Linked DNA regions of Homo sapiens: all the other regions are linked to region 6. The links are contacts of gene promoters, found by promoter capture Hi-C in blood cells and fetal thymus (Javierre and others, 2016). All regions are on one chromosome and are shown on one strand. Each heading gives the region's core, a stretch centred on a gene start or on the middle of the fragment in contact. The rest is flanking DNA. Distances are from core to core; before and after follow the strand shown.

Region 1 (3,267 bases), core at 364-2,863, 620 kb after region 6:
TTTAAGCTCTCGTGACCACTAAATCTGCATAATAAGCAACTAAAATGATTTCTGTTGGAAGAAAGTTTTTTTTTTTTTTTTCCTTACTGTCTTCACTCCCAAATGCACCCAGGTCAAAATTTAGCAACGCTTGGCTTGAAATGGCATCCATGTTTTGTTATGGTAATTTTTTATTTTTAAATGCAGAAGTGATTTAGTAGTAAAATCCTGCTTGCTGGTTAGAGGTCGTGGGAATGCCTCTCCATCTGAATGGAAAGAAATTGGTTTTAAATTATTAGATGGCCAAAGGCTTATAGAGAGTGGAGTTAGAGAAGCAGCTTATGACCTTCACCTACACTTGAACTGGAATGGTAATCTACATTTCCAAAGGCACTAAGCGTTCCAATTTAAATTTCTGTGGTGACACTTGAAAAGATTGATCATTCTATCCTGAGAGGAGATGAAGGAATGAGGGTGAGGGGTTATGAGCAGGCAACACTGCCTGCTCAGTAGGAGCTGACAATCAACTAGGATAGCCCCAATTTCCTGTTGCAATATTTAACTCACTTTTGTGTTTACATTTGATAAACACAAGTTTAGAGATTCAAGAATTAGAACATCTCTTGTCTCACTCCAGCTACAAATATTGATTAAAATGGGAAAGATTGTTTATTGTAAATTGCATTTATCTTCATGATGTGGGAACAATGTAGGTTTTCAATGAATGCTTCTTTGTGTGTGAAAGATATGTGAATAAACCAATTTCAATTTTTTTTTAATTTTTAATTATTAATTTTAAATTGACAATAATAATTGCATAATATTTATGTGGTACAATGATGTCTTAATGTATGTGTGCATTGTGGAATGAGCAGACCAGGCTAATTAACATATTCATCACCTCACAAGCTTATCATTTCTCTGCAGGGCAAACATTTATAAACTACTCTTTTGGCAATTTTAAAATATACAATACATTATTGTTAACTGTAGCCACTTTGATATGCAATAGATCACTAGAACTTATTCTTCCTAACTAAAACGGCCTAATTTCGAAATTCTGAAATCTTACTTTACATTTTACTTTGTATTTTTAGAATGTAATATCTTTGAAGGCAGTGATATGTTTCCTTCAAAGACTTTAATGAATGCAGTGTGTCAAAAATACACTGATTAATGTGGATACATAATAATGATGTCACAGTTTTGTCAGGCTCATAGTCTCCCCTATTGAATAACATAAACCTGAGAAAATGATGAGATAAAGCTGATTTTTTTCAAGATGAGAAGGAAGAAAATTTGGATATTTAAGAATTTAAAATAAAATGACAAATTAATCCTTCAGAATTATGTTTGAGAATGCTAAAAATTAGCCTTTCTTGAGTAAAAAACAAAAGTGTATGTCAGAAGAGACCTCTTGTGTGTATAATAGCTTACTGCAGTTTCTTTAAAAAAAAAAAATCCACTTCTGGAAGATAGAATGAATATACTATTCCCAAAGCCCAACCCTTAAGGAGGCCAATGCCTTATCCATTGAATGAATGTACTATTCCCTATTGCTTTCACAAAGTACAACTACAAACCCTAGACTTTACATATTAAACAAGCATATGATGACTCTGAAAGGTGGAGAAGGCTGACTGGCTGGAGACCACAGGACCAGAGGCAGTGTGTTCCCTGGGTTTTCTTTTTAACTCACATATCCCAGACTCATAGATAAAGAAACTCGTAACCCCGAAATACCAATGAATGCACGCCAAACAAAACAAAACAAAACAAAAATTACCAAAAGCCTGCCCTCTCCAGCTGAAAGAACAAGAGATGGGTAGCTAATGAGACAGATAATGATTAGACAGGCTGGGCGCAGTGGCTCACGCTTGTAATCCCAGAACTTTGGGAGGCCAAGGTGGGTGGATAGCTCGAGCTCAGGAGTTCAAGACCAGCCTGCTGGGCAACATAGCAAGACACCATCTCTATTTAAAAAAAATATATGTACACACACACACACACACACACACACACACACACACACATAAAAATACATATATGAGACAAAGATTGGACAATAACTGCTCCACTCCAGCCAAACACCACAGAAAAAATGTTAGCCCCACTCCCAGTGAAAGCTCAAGAGGAAGCAGACTTGCACTGTCCCCAGGATGTAATGGCAGTAGCACCAGCCTCCACCTCCCACTCTCTCACTGGACAAGTGTCAGAGAAAACTGAGTAGGGAGATGGAACTTTCATCCCTCTCATGCAGTGTCAGTGGATACCACATGGATTTCCACACCTATCCAGTGGTAATGAGATGCCTTTGCCCCTTCCTTCTAGGGTGGCCTCAAAGGAGACCTACTGGAGACAAAGCTTTCACCTAAGCCACTTCTCCAACATAATGTCAGGCCAAGAGGGGAGCAGTAATAAGGTTCTTCTACCCCTCCCAGCCAGGAGTAGAGGCTGAATGCGAAGCAGGACTTCCACTCTCACCTAACAGTCATGAGTAGCCCCTCCCCTCAGGTCTCAGTGGGAGCCAGGTGGGAACCTGAAACTTGACCTCATCTGGCAGTAATCAGGCAGCTCACTCCCCACTCCCATTTTCCTTTGCAAGAAATTTAAATAAGATCCCAAACCTCAATATAATACACAAATATCTAGGTTTTAATAGAAAAATCACTCATACCAAGAATAAAGAAGACCTCAAACTGAATGAAAAAAAGATAATAAATAGATCCTAACACTGAAACGACAGCAATGTTAGAATTATCTGATAAAGGTCTCAAGGAAATCATCATATGTTTCAGTAAGCATTATAAACATGCTTGAAACAAATAAAAAATAGACAGTATTATATCAGCAAAGAAATAAAAGATATACAAAAAGATAAATGAAAAGTTTAGAACTGAAAAATATAATAGCTAAAATTCAGTGAATGGACTCAAAACAGTATAGAGGGGACAGAGGAAAGAAATAATGAACTTGAAGATAGGACAATAGAAATTACCCAATCTGAAGAACAGAGAGAAAAAGATTGAAAAACAAACAAACAAAAAAAAAGAACAAACCTCAGGGAATTATGGGACTATAAAGATTTAACATTCTTGGTATCAGAGTTCTAAAAGGAGAAGAGTAAGAGGATGGAGCTCAAAAAATATTGAAGAAATAATGGCTGAAAACTACCCAGACCTACAGATTGAAGATACTGAGCAAACCACAAACAAGATAAATCCAAATAAATTTACATTAAGACACATCCCAGTCAAACTTATGAAACTTTTGAAAACTAAAAGACAA
Region 2 (3,189 bases), core at 580-3,079, 560 kb before region 6:
TCCCCATAATCCCCACCTGTTGAGAGAGGGACTTGGTGGGAGGTGATTGGGTCATGTGGGTGGTTTTCCCCATGCTGTTCTCGTGATAGTGAGTGAGTTCTCACAAGATCCCATGGTTTTATAAGGGGCTCTTCCCGCTTTGCTTCCTCTCACCTGCTGCCATGTACAACATGCCTTTGCTTCTCCTTCGCCTTCTGCCATGATTCTAAGCTTCCTGAGGCCTCCCCAGCCATGCAGAACTGTGAGTCAAACCTCTTTCCTTTATAAATTACCCAGCCTCAGGTAGTATCTTTATAGTAGTCTGCAAATAGACTAATATACCTCTTTTGCTCCCTTTTCTAGTTTTAATTGAGCATTTTATATGATTCTATTTTCTCTCCTCTCTTAGCATATCAATTATACTTAAAAATATGTTTTTAGAAATTGTCCTAGAGTTTGCAGTACACATTTACAACTAAGTCCACTTTTCAATAACACTATACCATTTCACAGGTAGTGCAGGTACTGTATAAAAGATTATTCCCAGTGCCTCTCTCCTGTTCCTTAAAGCATTGCTGTCATTTATTTCATTTATTCATAAACTAATATCACCCAATATATTACTGATATTATTATTTTGAAGTTATCTATGCGATCAATTAAGAATAAGAAACAAATTATAGGTTGGTGGATTTTTCTTTCAACACTCTAAATATTTCACTCTACTCTCTTTTTCCTTGCATGGTGTCTGAGAAGTCTGATTAATTCTCATCCTTGTTCCTTATAAGTAAGGTGATAGTTTTTCCTCTGACTCCTTTCAATATTTTCTCTTTATTTTCCACAATTTGTATACAATATGCCTACATGTAGTTTTTTTAAAATTTATCTTGCTTGGTGTTATCTGATCTTCCTGGATCTGTGGTTTGATGTCTGTTATTAATTTTAGAAAGTTGTCCACCATTATTAGATACCTAGATAACTATTATTTATGTATCTTCTGCTGCTTTCTTTCTTTTCCTTCTGGTATTGCTATTACCTGTATTTTATGCCTTTTGTAATTTTCATACAGTTCTTGGAAATTGTGTTTCTTTTTCCTATTCTGTTTTCTGTTTCCATTTAAGTTTGGGAAGTTTCAACTGACATACCTTCAAGCTCACTGATTCTTTTGCAGCTATCAAAAGTGATTCTCTTTTCTATTGTAGTATTTTTTGTTCTCTAACATTTCCTTTTGATTCTTTGAGTTTTCATCTTTCTGTTTATTCGTTCTTGCACTTTTCCCAGTTGATCTCTTAGCATATTAGTCATAGCATATTTTAAATTTCCAGTCTCATAATTCCCAAATCCCTGCCATATCTGAATCTGGTTCTGAGGCTTGCTTTGACATTTCAGAGCTGTGTTTTTTCTTGCCTTTTAGCATGCCTTATAATTGTTCATTGAAAGTGAGGCATGATGTATCAGATAATAGAAAACAAGATAAGTAGACCTTTAGTTTTTATGTGTATTGGGCCAGAAGTTAGACTGTGCTTAATGGTTGTTGTAGCTGTAAGTATCAGAGGCTTCTATTTTCTCTAATATCTTTCTTTTTGTCTCCCCTATTTGTTGTCTTTGGGTTTTCCTAGAGACTCATTTTTAAGCAGAGTCTGTGTCTTGCAACTCTCTCTAGTTGTGATCCACAGTTATTATACCAAAACACTATTTATGTGGTCGTAAGATATTGGAGAGTTGATACATTCTATAATGTTATGATAAAATCTCTATTTTTAAATTCTTATTTCTTTTTAAACAATTTTAGATTCAGGAGGCACATGTGCAGGTTTCCTACATGGATAGATTCTGTAATGGTGAGGTTTGGGCTTCTAGTAAACCCATCACCCAAATAGTAAACATTACAGCCAATAGATAATTTTCAATCTGCTCTCCTCTCCCACGTTTCCCTGTTTTGGAGTCCCTAGCATCTATTATTTTACCTTTATGTCCATGTGTACCCATTGTTTAGCTCCCACTTATAAGTGAGAACATGCAGTACTTGATTTTCTGTCTGAGTTATTTCACTTAGGATAATGGCCTCTAGCTCCATTCATGTTGCTGCAAAGGACATGATTTCACTCCTTTTTATGGCTGCGTAATATTCCATAGTTTATATATACCACATCTTCTTTATCCAATCAACTACTGATGGACACTTAGGATGATTCCTAATTGTGAATAGTACCCCAATAAATATATGAGTGCCAGTGTCATTGATTATAACAATTTCTTTTCCTTCAAGTAGATACCCAATAGTGGGATTGCTGGGCCAAATGGTACTTCTATTTTCAGTTATTTGAGAAATCCCCATACTGTTTTCCGTAGGGGTTTTACTAGTTTACATTGTCATTAACAGTATATACGCATTCCCTTTTCTCTGTATCTTTGCCAACATCTAAAACTCTGTTTTCTAGTTGTCCAGAATCCCTGAGCTGTGAACTTCATAAGGGTTTCTTCTTTTGTTTTTCTCCTTATGTGAGAAAGAAAGTGTAGAAGGTGTTCAAACTGTCTAGTTGCCTTTTCTCTAATTCAGATAAAGCTCTGGGGTAAAGTTTACCTTGAGGACAGGCTTTTGTTTCTGAGTATATTTCAAATAGTTATTGTTTTCCTCCCACATGCCAGAAAAAAGAGGAAACTTTTGTCCTGTCTTCTGAAAGTAAAACTCATTAATGTGTGGATGCTCCCATATGAATGACTCCCACTGTCTCTGAGTTTTCAACTCTCAAGTTAGTCCACACTCAGCCTTCAGCAATAGGCCAAATACTGTATAAATGCCCCCCTATCCTTTACTGGCTCCAGTGGCTTTTGCTGTCCTGATAAGCTGTAATTCTCCGTATTCACCTATTTCTTCAGTTTGCAAAGAGGTGGCATGTCCTATGACATCAATTCTCTGCAGATCTAAAAAGAGTAGTTGATTTTTGATTTGCTCATTTTTTTCTTGTTGTGATGATGGAAGTGGAGACTTTCACACCTTTCAAATGTCAGAGCAGAAACCAGAAGTCCTAGTAATAATGTTATATATATATATATATATATATATATATATATATATATATATATATATATATCTCTTTTGACCACATAAAAGGGGGAGGTGCACAGGTCTTATTATTATCATTTTACATATAAGAAAACTAAGGTTTAAAGAGATTAAATGAGTTTCCATGAGAAATATTGCTAACA
Region 3 (2,865 bases), core at 336-2,835, 610 kb before region 6:
GGTGAAACTTAAATTTCATATGAGTCTCAAGGGTTATAGCAATATCACTAATCTTTTGATTTTTGTCAATCATTTAAAATTATAGAGACTATTTTTAGTTCACAAAATAAAAATGGGCAGTGGGCCATTTTTGGCCTACAGGCTATACATTAACCCCTAATTTAGTTTATGGGTATGCTGTATGTCAGTCACCATTTCTCTATTTTAGATCACCAAATTTTTGGAATGATACATTTTCTATACTAATCATTAAAAAGGTGTCCTCAAACTGCCAAATAAAGTGTTCAGCTGATAAGTATAATTGGTTTTCAATTAATAGCCTATGTTTTTCTCCCAATTCATCCATTTCCCCTCAGCAAAATATTTTGAATGCCAACTATCGCATAAAGACATTCTTTCCTGCCCTGCTAGAAATCAGTGCACCTCAGGAAAGGGGATTTCCAGAGAACAAGAAGAAAGCATGGTGAGCAGTAAGACAGACTGAGTCACAGATGGCTGTGGTTCCTTTCCACATACAGGCCTTCTTGCTACATATACGTGTGTGTGGCCCTTGCAGGTAATAATAGCAGTCAGCATAACTCCAGATCTCAGAGCAATGAGTACTACTGTTGAGGAGAATTCCACCTCTTTTAATATAAGGCTTTTGAAAGAATTAAATGAACCTGGATGGATTTGAAGAGATGACAGAAAAATTGCCTCTGAAAACAGGAAACTGGTTAAAGCAACTTACCCTGAAGTGTTTCAGAGATGAGAAGCATTCATCTCTCCACATTCAGGTTTGTCAAAATGATGCAGTACTGGACTCTCTAGAGAAATCTCAACAAGTGAAGAGATAAAATTCTGTCACAGTGGTGAGAAAGCGGGTTTTAAAAGATATGTGGGTGTTCATGTGAATTAAAGGTTATATAGCTGTCCTAAAAAATGAGACTTGCCAGGAAAGCTTCTTTTTTTCTGAAATCTGAATATTTCCGCTGAATTTGGTGCTCTCCCAAGTCGTTTTTTATTCAAAAGCACAAAGAAGACATTCTTCTGAGAAGATGAACATGAAAATTCACTTAGAATGAGTGCTTTACACAATCTTCTTTGTCTAGATTTATTAAATGCCCTTCACTTTGAGCACTGGCTGAGCGGTTTTGTGGAATTATAGGTGAATGCTAAGCATGTTGGGTGGAGCTATGAATGTCTGTGAGCATTTGTCACTGAGCAAAAATAAGAAGAAAAGTCTTGAGCTCTGAAATCAAAAGTTCTTTCTCTTGCACGGGCCATGTTCCAAGACTCCTTGTGAACAAGATAAAAAGCAAGTGACAGTCCAGCTCCAGTCCTTCATTAAAAACAACTCTATAATACCCATTGAAGAAAACAAAAGCCAGTCAAACTTGAGTGGCATCTTTGTTATAGGAAACAAATTCTGTTGGGCCCCATCACAACTGTCAACAACGCATTGAAGGAAAACTTTAATGCGAAAAGAAATAAACCTCCATAAGGTTTTCATGATTTTTAAAAACAGTAGGTGGGGAGGTAGGAGTCTGTAGATTACATAGGCATAGATTTTATATGGCCAAACAAGTCCTGAATCTAGGGACTTGTCCTGGAGCAAATTAAAACCACAATAAGATATGACTTCACCCCTGTTAGAAGGGCTATGATCAAAAAGACAAAAAGATTACAAGTGTTGGTGAGGGTTTGGAGAAAAGGGAACCCTTAGCACTGCTGGTTGGAATATGCATTAATACAGCCATGATGGGAAACAGTATGAAAGTTTCTCAGGAAACTAAAAATAGAATTACCATACTATCCAGTAATCCTAATTCTGGGTATCTATCCAAAGGAATTGAAATCAGTATGCCGAAGAGATGTCTGCACTCCCATGTTCACTGCAGCACTACTTATAATAGCTAAGATATGGAAGCAACCTAGGTGTCCATCATCAGAAAATGGATAAGAAAAATGTGTTTTGTTACGTAAACATAATGGAGTACTATTATTCACCCTTTAAAAAGGGAGAAATCCTGTCATTTGTGACAACATGGATGAAACTGGATGACACTATTTTAAGCAAAATAATACAGGCACAGAAAGACAAATACTGCATGACCTCTCTTATATGTGGAATCTAAAAAAGTTGAGCTCAAAAGTAGAGAGTAGAATGGTGGCTACCAGAGGCTGGGAGAGGGGGTTAGATGGGAAAAGTGTTGATCAACAGGTACAAAGTTTCGGTTAGACAGGAGGGATAAGCTTTAGTGATCTATTGCACAGAATGGTGACTATAATAATAATATAACGTATATATCAAAATTACTAAAAGAATATATTTACAATGTTTCACCCAAAAAAAATCATCCTATGATTTGAAGAAGCCTAAAAAATAAATTAGTTAAAATTTAAATTTAAAAAAATAAGTAAGGTGATGGATTTTTAAATTAGCCTAATTTAATAATTCCACATTGTAAACATATATCAAATAATCACATTGTGCCCATAAACATATACAAATATTATTTTTCAACTTAAAATTAAATTAAATAATAAAAAAGAAACAGGTCTCTGCGTGATTCCAAATATGTTTCATATATTTATTTATCTAACTGTTTTTCACTTCATAGTTTGTTTTCTCTAGGCCTAACTGAGTTAAAATAATCTCCATACTTCCTCAGGAGTTAGCTAAGTGTGAAGTCAAGGAAGCAGGAAAGGAGAATGTCTTGTGACTTCATTCATCACCAACTACCTAAACAACTTAAATCGCCAGTTCTCCTCTGAAAACAAGGCATTCTTCTTTGTTCTGACAAATGGGCAGGAACTTCTGCTTTCTAGGTCTGCCCTGAACTTCTGCTGTATAAATGGAAACTCCAAGACTCTTCCTGTCTC
Region 4 (3,186 bases), core at 129-2,628, 600 kb after region 6:
GCTACTTGGGAGGCTGAGGCACAAGAATCATTTAAACCCGGGAGGTGGAGGTTGTAGTGAGCCAAGATCGCACCACTGCACTCCAGCCTGGGCAACAGAGCAAGACTCTGTCTCTAAATAAATAAATAAATAAATAATGAAAAATAACCAAATATAGATAGGGGAAGAAACAGGAAAATAATAGTGGTAAAGGAGGTGGAATAATAGCAAGGAAAAGGAGGGAAGGGAAAGGATGAGAAGAAAACAATTAAATGGTGAAATAAATTAATAAGCAAATATTCAAAAGCAAAAAAAAAGCAACACAATAGTTCATATCTGTGGTTTGGAGCAGACCCCTCCTGAGGCAGGAAAACTCTCCTCTTTGGGAAGTGAATTTCCCATTAATAATAGTTAATGTCACTCATAAATTGGAGGCTTCTGATAACAGCAAAAGATTGTATCCTTTCATTCTCAGATTGGGGTAGGTACCAGATGCTCTTACTTAATTACTTAAAGATTTAACTACATAATCTTGCCCGTGATTGCTGCACTGAGTTTACCTGGTTTGAGCTCAGAGTGGTTTACCTCATTGATTTCAAGCGTCCTTTAAGGTCAGTCATATACGATTGCACCTAAGATATTTAAATAGCTGTTTCTTTTTACTCTCATAGAGTGTGCGATCATCAGACTTCCCCCAAACCAGAGAATCTCTACTTAGCGAGTGCAATGGCTGAACTTGAACCTATATTTGAAATTTCATTTTACCCAGTCAATTCATGAGGACGCAATTTATCTGTGGATTTATATAAATACCACTATTAGAGACAAACTACTTATAAATGCTTTAAATTCATTTCTCCTTCTCCAGACCCAGAAAGGAAACCCAAATGTATCCACTTTACGCATTCAAAGCCTTGACTTTCTGAGCTAATCTTTCATAAATGGCTCTTAAGGGAGGGTCTCCTTCCTTCCTTGGGTCTCACCCAGAGGTTGCCCCTTTGCAATCCACATTGATGAAGGACATCTTCCCTGCTGGAGGACACGTTCCTGCAGGAGATTCTTTGAAGAGCAAACACCACCCTCCAGCCTTGAAATGCTGGCGCGGCTTCACTGTGTCTCTAAATCAAGCTTTGTCCACCCAGACAGGAAGACTCCACCCTGTTGTGACAGGCACAATGTGGAATTTGTGCTTCAGTGAGCTTCAGATGATTTTCAACCCCACACCTTGGATGTGTTTTTGAAACAATGTGGGATATAAATAAATAAAACATATTAACCATTGTGGTGCTTTATTCGCTCTTCAATATTTGTAAGTTGATTTCTACCATAAAAGAGTTTTTTTCTCTCCTCCCTTCCTTCTTTCCCTGCTCTCCCACCGCCCTCACCATCACCACCCACCCTGCCCTAAAAAAACAGTTCCGTTTTTGGTATTCTTCTGTGACGTTCCACACTTCATGGAAGGGTGGTTCTGCTAGTTGAAATTTTAAAATGCATCCATTCCCATTCTCCGGCTTATTCAGAATCCTCTATTGCCAAATCTTTAGGCTTTTTTCAACCCCCATTTACAACTTATGACAAGCTCATGAGTGTCTTTTCTTGCTCAAGTTCTCATCCTATCACTCTCTGCACAAAAGCCTTGGAGAATGTTCATTTCCATCCCAAGAACAAAATAAGCTTTTGCCCTTCCCCGCTTTAAAACAATTGCTCAAGGTAATGGCCACCACCATCTTACAAAATTAATTGATTAACTTTTTAGGTCAGACTGGGGTTTGTCTACTGAGAAGTTCTTGGCAGTGCAGAAAGAGCAGTCAGTCTGTTTGATGTGACACAGAAGTGTGAAGAAGACGATGTGCCTGTTTCTGTCCCAGGCGAGGAAGTTTGTATGTAAATATAGTGGGGAGAGGGTAAGAAGACAAAGATTCAAAGCAAAAAAGGGAACAGTAAATGCACACAGTGAGTGCAGTTTTACAACTAAAAAAAATATTTAAACATTTCTGATGTCAAGAAATCAGAAGGCATTTGGAAAATATTCTAACCCTTTTAAAGATATTCCAAACCATTTTCCCTGGCTTATTTCTACATAGCAACAAACTTTTATCTCTGAAAATAAACTGTCCATCTCCTGAGAAGAGATTATTTCTCTTCTGAGAACTCTTTCAGATATAAGAATGTGAAGGATTCCAGTTGTTTGGTCCTGCTTACCTTTCCTGTGACATGTGTGTATATGAAGCTGTATGGGAATCCCCATCCAGAAGTTCTCAAGAGAGGAGATGGGCTTCCATGCTTTTTTAAAAAATGTGACAGAAAGTCTGCATGAGTTTTGACCTTTTTTTTTTTTTTCCTGGTGAGGATAAAGCCAGTTTTCAACTGTGAGAAAAGTGCTCTGAGGCAAACTCGCTTTCACCACAGCTTAGCCCTGTGGCATCTCCTGCTGTGGCCATGCACCCAATAAATTCCCCTAGATGAGCAATTCCTGTAGCCTGGTCCTGGTCAGGCTGGCATGCAGGAGGGCTTCCTTCTATTACTAAAGTGGAGTCTCCAAATCACCTCTTTGGAATGTGTGAACCCTAGGGCAGGGTCCCCAACCCCTGGGCCACAGACTGGTACGGGGCCACAGGCAGGGGCTGAAGGGTGGGTAAGCAAGGGAAGCTCATCTGTATTTACAGCTGATCCCCATCGCTGGCATTACCGCTCAAGCTCCGTCTCCTGTCAGACCAGCAGCGGCATTAGATTCTCATAGAAGCACGAACCCTATTGTGAACGGTGCATGGGAGGGATCTAGGTTGCGTGCTCCTCATGAGAATCTAATGCCTGATGATCGGTCACTGCCTCCAATCACCCCCAGATGGGACCGTCTAGTTGCAGGAAAACAGCCTCAGGGCTCCCACTGAGTCTACGTTATGGTGAGTTGTATGATTATTTCATTATATATTACAATGTAATAACAGAAATAAAGTGCACAATAAATGTAATGTTCTTGAATTATTCCAGAATCATCCCCCTGCCTGGTCCATGGAAAAATTGGCTTCCACGAAACCAGTAGCTGGTGCCAAAAAGGCTGGGAACCGCTGCCCTAGAGGAAGAATTTCAATACAAATGTAGCAAACTCCAGTTCCTTATTTTGTTCTGTAAAAGCATTATTGATTGTGACAACCCAAAGCATCATCAGGAAAACAGGGAACACACTGCATGGCCATCTGCCATGAG
Region 5 (2,853 bases), core at 188-2,687, 650 kb after region 6:
CACTTTGGGAGGTCTTGGGGAGGTTGGATCATTTGTGGCCAGGAGTTTAAGACTAGCCTGGCCAACATGGCAAAACCCAATGTTTACTAAAAATAGAAAAAAATGTGCTGGGCAGAGTGGCACATTCCTGCAATCCCAGCTACTTGGGAGGCTGAGGCAGGAGAATTGCTTGAACCTGGGAGTCAGAGGTTGCAGTGAGCTTAGATCGCACCACTGCACTCCAGCCTGAGTGACAGAGTGAGACTCTGTCTCAAAAAACAAAACACAAAAAAACAAAAAACAAACCAACAACAACAACAAAAAAAACTAGAAGCCTACTAAGATTTCAAGGGAATTGTATTGCCAAAGAAATAACAAGCTTAGCTTGTAAAAGCTTGTTATTGCTGAATCCCAAACCAGTTCCAAAGTATGGCATACTGCCCAATCTACTTTAAATTTGGCCTTGGTAGTAACGGTTGAGAAAGTACCTTTTATTATGCACATCTGGGTCCCCAGAGGACATGAGAGTTATTTCCAGGTAGCAAACTGGGCTAAGCAGACTATTTCACTGCTACAGTAAATTCTTTGATTTTTCTGTCTAGCAGGATTTGATCACTCCTGTGCACCAGAGACCTCTCTGTATTTCCTACCTTTCCCTTATTGAATTGTTAAACAAAATGATAGGAAGCCATTGTTCTGAACTGACTTCTTGCACTAGGCGCTGACAGACCAAAACAAAATGAAACCATTCATGCTAAATGTTATGTGATCAAACTGAAACTTTTAAAAAGCAGATAAATCCCAAAATGGACCAGGTTTTTTTTTTTCTGTCTTCTTAAAACAGGAGATTCCAGCATAATAAGGAGGGCCCCTCTGCTCTATTCCTTACAAAAAGTAGTCTGAAACAACCATTTTTTCCCTATTGTTCTTTGTCCTTGTTCCCAGCTTACAAAACCCACTGTTCTATTTCCCAGTGGGATTTGAGACCAAATAAATGGATTTATAATGGTGAAAGAGTGAAGTCAATGCTTAAAGTTTTGGTCAATCTCTCAAAATTGCCTACAGCTACCTCCTTACATATTTTAAGTTCAGCCTAAATTTTCTCCATATATAGTGAACTATAATCCAGCTGAATGCATGAACAGACTGTAATCTACTCTTTTTTTTTTTTTGAGATGGAGTCTTGCTCTGTTGCCCAGGCTGGAGTGTAGTGGCGCGATCTTGGCTCACTGCAAGCTCCGCCTCCCAGGTTCATGCCATTCTCCTGCCTCAGCCTCCCAAGTAGCTGGGACCACAGACACCCGCCACCACACCCGGCTAATTTTTTTTTTTTGTATGTTTAGTAGAGACGGGGTTTCACCATGTTAGCCAGGATGGTCTGGATCTCCTGACCTCGTGATCCGCCCGCCTCGGCCTCCCAGAGTGCTGGGATTACAGGTGTGAGCCACCGTGCCTGGCCTGTAATCTACTCTTACACCAATCTCAGTTTTGGCCAGTCACAGGTGGTCAGCTGTTTAAACCATGTTCAAATAAAGCAAATGCCAGGCTGTAACCAATCTAACTGTTTCTGTACCTTGCCTTCTTTTTTCTGTCCTTAAGTATTATCTGACCATGTGGCATCCCCAGAGTTGTGCTGAACCTATTCTGAATTATTCTTTGCTCAGTTAAACTCTGTTAAATTTAATTATTTGCCTTAAGTTTTCCTTTTAACAAAAGTGGGAGTTTTATCATGGTTATCTTGTTTCTGCTCCATCCTTGGATATTGGATGTGGTGTGGAGTAGGGCAGGAAAATTGGGCAGATTAAAAATGTCTTTGGCCAAGCATGGTGACTCACACCTGTAAACTCAGCACTTTGGGATGCTGAGGTAGTAGGCTGTCTTGAATCCAGGAGTTCAAGACCAGCTTGGGCAACATAGTGAGGCCCCATCTCCATAAAAAATTTTTAAAAATTAGCCTGGTGTGATGGTGCACACTGGTAGTCCCAGCTACTCAGGAGGCTGTGGTGGGAGTATTGCTTGAGCCCAGGAGGTCGAGGCTGCAGTGAGCCATGATTGTGCCACTGCACTCCAGCCTGAGTGACACAGCGAGGGAGGAGGAAAGGAAAATAGTTTGGCAGACAGCTAAAGTTGGTCTTTGGTAAAATTCTTTTAAACAGAAAGACATCCTGAAGAATCAACCTACAGGCACGCATAAAGCCACCTGGGGAAATCTCAGGCTGTAGCTGCACAGATAAGAAAGCAAGGCCTAACATAGAAGCCTTCATTCTTAGTGTAATTGTGGGCTCCCAGGAAAAAGTTTCCTCCCCTTTTCAGGTATGTACACAGTGGGCTCTGGGGGAACTTGCATGGGGAGCAGGGGTTCTTACTCAAAACATACACACCATTGCACAAACAAGAGAAACTGCACTTTGTGCCTGCCTAAAGACGTGCTTTCAGCTGTACAGATAAGGGGAGTTACACAGACAGCTTCACAGATAAGGGAAGTTACACAAACAGCTGCAGAAATGAGGGGAGTTTCTTACAAAAGCTTTTGGATTCAGCTATAAAAATGGCAACCCACTTTTGGGCCCCCTCTCCGCTGCAGAGAGCGTTCTTTTGTTTATTAAACTTTCGTTCCAACTTCATCCTTGTGTCTATGCACCTTAATTTTCTTGGCCGTGAGACAAAGAACTCCAGGTACTACCTCAGACAACAAGACCGTAACATTGTAGTGCATTGGCAAGACCGCAACAACAGCAATGAGGGCTGACAACGTGCTAGCAGCCCTCGCTCGCTCTCAGCACCTCCTTGGCCTCGGTGTCCACTCTGGCCCCACTTGAGGAGCCCTTCAGCCCCCCACTGCGCTGTGGGGGCCCCTCTCTGGGGCTGACCGAG
Region 6 (3,104 bases), core at 86-2,585:
TTAACAGTAAAAGTCCGAAGGAAACAAATGACTAAGTTTCCATTTCTACCACCTTTCTCTTACCTTTGTGAAATTTCAGCACATTATTCACAGCTAGTTCCCAACCAAGTCCAGAAACTAACACAATTAAAAAAAGAAAATGCAAAGTAAAATAGGCCCAGAATAGGTTCTTTTGATTACTTATGTTTTTGGAAATATATTTTCCTTTTTGAGTCTCCAAGAGTCCTCCTCTCAACAAGTGTAAGAGAGCCCAGGTGAGTCACTGTTCACTACTCATGGAGAAGCTAGAAGAGGCATGGTTGGGGTCTTACTAACTTTATCTCTATTTCCCATCATCGGAAAAATTCGTGAAGCCCAACGCTCTAAAACATAGATTAAGAAGTTGCTTTGAGTCTGGTAACGTGTCCTACACTGGCTGTTTAGAGCCCTGCACCACCAAGGATTAAATTCCAAAGGGGACTGGGGTGGGACAGGGCAGGAAAGCGGACTCAAACACATGAACTCCTCCCTTCCTCAAACCAAATATCTGCTGCTGATATGCCTTGATTGACTGTTAAATATGTATTAGGAAAAACAATCCCTTGCTATAAAATATCTTAAGTTTCTAAATCTATGTAGTGAGTTCTGTGTGTGTGTGTGTGTGTGTGTGTGTGTGTGTGTGTGTATGTTTTAAAGGGGGGACTTAATATTTCAAATGCAACTTCTTATATAACCATGGTATGGTGGCCCAAGACGCCAAACAGAACAAATGATTTGGATAAACAGTTTAAATTTTGTGAAAGCCTGGAGGAATCGAATTTGGACATGGAGGAAACCTGACAAAACCTTGGGTGCTATGTGATTCAAATCACAGCCCACCGAAGCGGCCACCGCGCGTACCAAGCCTTCCCCCCTAGCATACGCCTTCTGTGAACGGGCTCTTGTACCTGAACAAAGCGAGGACCCAAGTTCAGGGGCTTTGTCTCTAAAGAACAAAGATCGGCCTAGCTGCATGCTCGCTGTGCGAAAGAACCCAGGCTCCGTGGGAACCCCACGCCACTCGCGGAGCTGCGCCCCGGCGGCCGCCCTCGCCCCTCGGGCCCCTTTAAGTGCCGCGCCTGCCCCCGTCCGCGTCCCCCGCGTGCCCGGAGTACTGGGCCGCCCGCCCGCTCCTGGCCGCACCTCCCACCTCCCGCCTCCCGCCGGGGTTACGTGAGCCCGGGGCGGGCGGCCGCCGGGCCAATGGCCGCCGCCGGGGCCGCCGCGCTCCTCCCGCGCCGCCGCCGCCGCCGTGGGGCTGCGGGCTCCTCCCGCAGGAGATAACTGTCAGCGCGCGAGGCGGTGGCGGGCCGGCTCAGTCATATGACCGGCAGCCGGCGGCTCCGGCGCCGAGCAGAGTTACTCAGTCGCAGCGGCCCCGCGCTCCCGCAAGGCTGGGCGGCCGCGCCGCCGCGATGGCCCCGCCACCGCGGCCGCCGCCCCCGGCTGCGCGCTGAGCCGCCGGCCCCCCGAGCGCCACGGCCGGAGCTGCGGCGGCGGCATCATGGCCCCGACCCTGCTCCAGAAGCTCTTCAACAAAAGGGGCAGCAGCGGCAGCTCCGCGGCGGCGTCTGCCCAGGGCAGGGCTCCTAAGGAAGGACCCGCCTTTAGGTGAGGGGGCGCCGGGGGGCAATTCTGGCGCGGGACCCGAGTTGGCTTCGGTGCTCGCCGGGGAGGGGACGGGTAGGGGAAAGGGAAGGGACTGTCCAGGACGGCGCTGCCTATCGCCGGCACCTGGTCCCGGGCTTGTCAGCGTGGACGCGCCTGATCCGAGTGTGGCTCCGGACCCTCCGTGACCCTTCCTCCCGCTCTTTCTCCACAACTCAGGGTCCTTCCCCATTTCAGAGTTCTCTTGTGTTCCTTGGGGTTCCCGGGCGTGCGCTGTGCTTGGCTGTGGCGACCGGAGATTCTCCGGTTATTGGGGTGAACCCCTTCCGGGCAGAGCCGCCTGGGCACCTCTGCGGGCCCAGCAAAGCTGTGAGCTGTCATTTTGAGGGCAGCTCCAACCTATTGTGTACGTGACAGTGTTTTGAAGTTCTGAAGGAGCAACAGTCACGAAAAAGGCATCTTTCTTCTTTCTTGCCATATATGACAAGCTCTCAAACGGATGAATGAAAGTATGTAATTTCCACATCATGTGGAAGGTTGATGCCGCATGATGTGTGGAAAGGGGGAGTAAGATGCAATTATGAAATTTCCGAGATTTCAATTGATCAAAGCTGATATGTATATTTAATAGATTTGATCTCTCGAACACATACCTTTGAATATTGATAGCATTTATGGAGAGCTTACTACCTAAAATGCTTTATGTTGATTTCTGTCGTTTACTTTTCTGACAATGCGGTGAGGTGGGTGCTATTATAATTCCCATTTTACAGGTGAGGAAACTTAAAGTCACAGATAACTTAGGCGGCTTGCCCAAAATCCAGCTGTCAGTGGTAGAGCCTGTGTTTTGACCCAAGCAGTTTGACCACAGATTCCAGTCTTTAAAATCCCTATGCTATTCTGATTTCAAGGGCTAACTTTTAAAAGACGCCTTAAAATGTCCTATATTGCCTTTGAGCACAGGTATGTTGAGAAGTTTATTTAACAATTTTTCAACACATTTTAAAATTGAGCACCAACTCCCAATTCTGACACTATGCTAGGTGCTTTTTGGCCAAAATGTCTTGCAAAAACAGTTCACTGTTAAACAGATCTAGACCCAGTATAATAAACCTTTAAAAGTTTCAAGTGAAACTTTGAAATAAATTCTGGATTAAGTTTTATGTTCTAGATTTTGCTTTTCTTGAATTCCATCATTTAAAACAGTCTCTCACTGTGGTCATGTGAAAATTAAACGTGTGTGTGTGTGTGCACGCGCGCTCATGGAAGGCATATTGTGAGGACCTTAAACTCCCCAAGTTAAATTCTCATGTTTTCTTTAGGCTAACAAGCCTTATAATTTGAGTGGGAATTCTATGCCTTTTGTTAGGCTGAGTATTAGTGATGCCATGTACCTTCTCAGAATGGTAGAATTACTTCGGACCTAAGGTGTGTAATTTCGTCCCTTCCCTCCCTGTAACCCAGACTCCATCAGGGGT
Region 7 (2,962 bases), core at 77-2,576, 760 kb before region 6:
TTATAGTTTTTTTTTTTAATTTGCCAGGACCCATGCCCCCTATATTATTCAAATGTAGCTCTATTCTCAACTTCAATGGTAAAGTAGCACCATACACCTGGCCAAATGGTGCAGAGCAGCATTGGATCAGGAATGGGCAAGTGACCAAACTGATTCAATGAGAAGAAATTACAGGTCAAACATGGAAGGGACCTGGTTCAGGATACAAGGCAAAGGCCCATTTTATGATGAGGAGAGTCTGTAGCTGAATATGAACCCAACAGAGGGGAAGCAGAGCTCAACGATGAAGAGAAAGAAACTGAGTCTTACTAATTGCATCAGACCCTGAATTGAGAGACTGAAAGCTTACATTTATCTAACTCTGGATTTTTCAGTAACATAAGCTAATTAATTATCTTTTTAGTTAGACACGCTTGAGATTGAATTTGCATTCACTTTGAACAGGAAAATAAAATCCCAACTAACTTTCTGAATTTATTTCTCCCTCCCCCTTGCACAATTTTATACCATAGCCACACCAAGCATAACCAATATTTTCACCTTTTAGAGACTTGGTTCTTATTAGGCTTCTGACTGGATGTTTATTTCTCTTCCCTCCCTGGAAAACTTCTATTTACCCACTAAAGCTCAGCTATCTGTTTTCTTCCTTTGTAAAGACCTCTCCAAACTTCTAAACAGATTCATATGTTTCCAAAGTCATCATCATTTCTAAGACTACAACAAAAACATGTGATCTGCTGTGTATGTCTCTCACATATGATACAGAGGTTTCGTCAATCAGCGATGGGGTTTTGTTTTTCACACTGTATTTGTTATTTTGGCTTTAAGCAGAAAATTACTATACAGGATTTAGAATAATTTGTAACAAGGCATTGGCAATAGCAGTTATACTGTTATTTCCAAAATGTGTGGTCCTTTTGAAAATCTTTAAGTATACTACTTCTTTTCTAAGCAAGAAAGTTATAATTCTTGAATAACTATGCTTATTTGTAATATTTTCACACAGAGTAGAAACTGGAGTGTTACGGCCTAAATATATTCAAATTTTGTGTGCTTTGTCTCTGTTGAGTTCCACCAGAATTTCTTTTTTTCTTTTCATTTACTCCTATATCAGTACTTCAGTTGGCTAAAAATAACACTTTGCTGAAGGCTCATAAACAAGAGTATTTTAAGGCGGACAACAAACTATTTTTAAGGTGCATGTTTTAAATGCCTGACTTTGGATGATGTGCCACCTACTTTAATGCTCAAAAGAAAAAGTGACACAACTGTAGAAATAATTATCAAACTATTTTAAGTATTATACTGGTGGCCAAAAGAGAGAACATTTATTTTTAAGTTAGGATGTTACAAAAAATCATATCCTCTTTTTCCTTGAGTTCAAGTTTCATATGGTGTTTTATAAGCTGTTTTTCTTATGCTTATGGCACAATGCTAACTGTTTTTATTAGGAAATGGCCTCCTGGCTAAGTGCCTACTCATTGTATTACAGCATTTTCCCTCAGCTGTAGCAGAACAACAAACCAACAAGTTCACACTTCCTTATTAATTCTGGAAAACCCTTACCATGCATAACACAGCATGAACCTTTTTATATCTTGACAATTGCTGGAAGTGTTTTATTTTATAACAGAATTTTAAGAATATCCTAATTAAATAGCAAACAGTGGTTACTATGGAAACCATGTTCATAAGTTTTATAATTGTCTTTAAAAATGTTAATTGTCTTCCAAAGCTGTGACTTAGGCTATTAATAACTTGTAAACCTGTTGTTTTTCTCTTCTCAGTGGTTTCTTGCTTTTTGAATACAGCATTATAGTTTGATGAAAGATGATATAAGTGATCATCTTTAAATTATTGATGTTTCCCACAATTTATGGGAACAATTCAAATCTCTTAAGTCGGTTCAATTATGTTTAGCCTAAGGCCATCTCCTTACATATTTTAAGTTCACCCTAAATGTTTCTCTGTACATCCTGAACTATAAACTAAATGGAGTTGTAACCTACTCTTAGGCCAATCACCAAGTTTTGGCCAATCAGATGTGGCCAACTGTTCAAACCCTGTTCAAATAAGGCAAACACCAAGCTGTAACCAACCTAGCTGTTTCTGCACCTCACTTATGTTTTCTGTACATCACTTTGCTTTTTCTGTCCCTACATCCGTGGCTGTGCTGAAGTCATGGAGCCTACTCTGGCTCAGGAGGCTGCTGATTCATGATTCACGAATAGTTCTTTGCTCTATTAAACTCTCTTAAATTTAATTCAACTAAAGTTTTTCTTTTAACAAGTCTTAAAAGTGAAGCTGGGAAGCTTGCACCTATTAGCATCCAAATGGAAACACTTACTTGTGCTTGGGATAGAAACAATGTCAAAATAAGGAAAAGTGTGGATTAATAGAAAATAGATCTTTAGTGTATTCCTACTTTAGTTGCCATCCATTTGCTCCTCCATTTTCTATATTTGTATAGGTTAGAACCTCACACTTTGTATGTTAAATATTTGCAATGCCATGTAAAAGAAAGAACCTGGACATATACTAGTCTGCATTTGATTTCTGACTTCCTGTCTATGTGACTTTATTCAGTTAATTTAATTTTTCTCAACTTCAATTCCATTGAATACAAAATGGGAAATTGATACTTTTTGTATAAATTTGTTATGAATATATTAGAGAAAATGAATTGCACATAAACAAAAGCCTAGTGACAAATAAATGGCACTCATAACAGATCCGCAACTAAACATCAACAACAACAGTAATTATCAATTGTGAGTACTTTCTTTGAGCCGCATCTTTACAAATGCTATCTATTTCAGCTGTCAGGTAAAGATTAGCAAATGCTATTGCCTTGTTTTTGCTGCTGTTTTGTTTTGCCCTTATTGCCCCAAGTTTACACATAATATATTCTCTTAAGTTAAATTTTTAGATTGGGAGAAAAGGTCACTGATATTCTGGAAAG

Evidence for each region. The method cuts DNA at HindIII sites, captures the fragments that hold promoters and counts their contacts. A CHiCAGO score of 5 or more calls a contact.
Region 1: a fragment that was not itself captured here is called in contact with the fragment with the promoter of FNIP2 in region 6 in 1 of 17 cell types (endothelial precursors); the score reaches 9.3 in endothelial precursors.
Region 2: a contact is called between a fragment that was not itself captured here and the fragment with the promoter of FNIP2 in region 6, in 1 of 17 cell types (M2 macrophages). The highest score is 6.6, in M2 macrophages.
Region 3: a fragment that was not itself captured here is called in contact with the fragment with the promoter of FNIP2 in region 6 in 1 of 17 cell types (M0 macrophages); the score reaches 5.9 in M0 macrophages.
Region 4: a contact is called between a fragment that was not itself captured here and the fragment with the promoter of FNIP2 in region 6, in 1 of 17 cell types (endothelial precursors). The highest score is 8.0, in endothelial precursors.
Region 5: a fragment that was not itself captured here is called in contact with the fragment with the promoter of FNIP2 in region 6 in 2 of 17 cell types (erythroblasts and endothelial precursors); the score reaches 8.9 in erythroblasts.
Region 7: a contact is called between a fragment that was not itself captured here and the fragment with the promoter of FNIP2 in region 6, in 1 of 17 cell types (M1 macrophages). The highest score is 5.9, in M1 macrophages.

Annotation. Positions count from the first base shown.
Region 1 is chr4:159,383,448-159,386,714 of GRCh38, forward strand. No RefSeq gene overlaps it. Among named protein-coding and RNA genes, the nearest start is that of MIR3688-1, 260 kb to the left of the region's middle. RefSeq lists enhancers at 1-229, 230-803. The HindIII fragment of the contact is 1,455 bases long and covers 887-2,341 here.
Region 2 is chr4:158,205,587-158,208,775 of GRCh38, forward strand. No RefSeq gene overlaps it. Among named protein-coding and RNA genes, the nearest start is that of TMEM144, 3.3 kb to the right of the region's middle. The HindIII fragment of the contact is 3,243 bases long and covers 209-3,189 here.
Region 3 is chr4:158,158,786-158,161,650 of GRCh38, forward strand. The region is part of intron 2 of GASK1B (golgi associated kinase 1B); the gene reads right to left. Among named protein-coding and RNA genes, the nearest start is that of GASK1B-AS1, 11 kb to the right of the region's middle. The HindIII fragment of the contact is 1,295 bases long and covers 939-2,233 here.
Region 4 is chr4:159,366,063-159,369,248 of GRCh38, forward strand. No RefSeq gene overlaps it. Among named protein-coding and RNA genes, the nearest start is that of MIR3688-1, 240 kb to the left of the region's middle. The HindIII fragment of the contact is 546 bases long and covers 1,106-1,651 here.
Region 5 is chr4:159,418,009-159,420,861 of GRCh38, forward strand. No RefSeq gene overlaps it. Among named protein-coding and RNA genes, the nearest start is that of MIR3688-1, 290 kb to the left of the region's middle. The HindIII fragment of the contact is 2,133 bases long and covers 372-2,504 here.
Region 6 is chr4:158,767,691-158,770,794 of GRCh38, forward strand. FNIP2 (folliculin interacting protein 2) reads left to right here and starts at 1,336. Exons shown (of 17, transcript NM_020840.3): 1 at 1,336-1,629. The coding sequence starts at 1,523. RefSeq lists a silencer at 1,077-1,286 and an enhancer at 1,244-1,981. The HindIII fragment of the contact is 6,862 bases long and covers 1-3,104 here.
Region 7 is chr4:158,005,691-158,008,652 of GRCh38, forward strand. All of the region lies in intron 1 of LOC105377509 (a long non-coding RNA gene), which reads right to left. Among named protein-coding and RNA genes, the nearest start is that of GASK1B-AS1, 160 kb to the right of the region's middle. The HindIII fragment of the contact is 1,968 bases long and covers 343-2,310 here.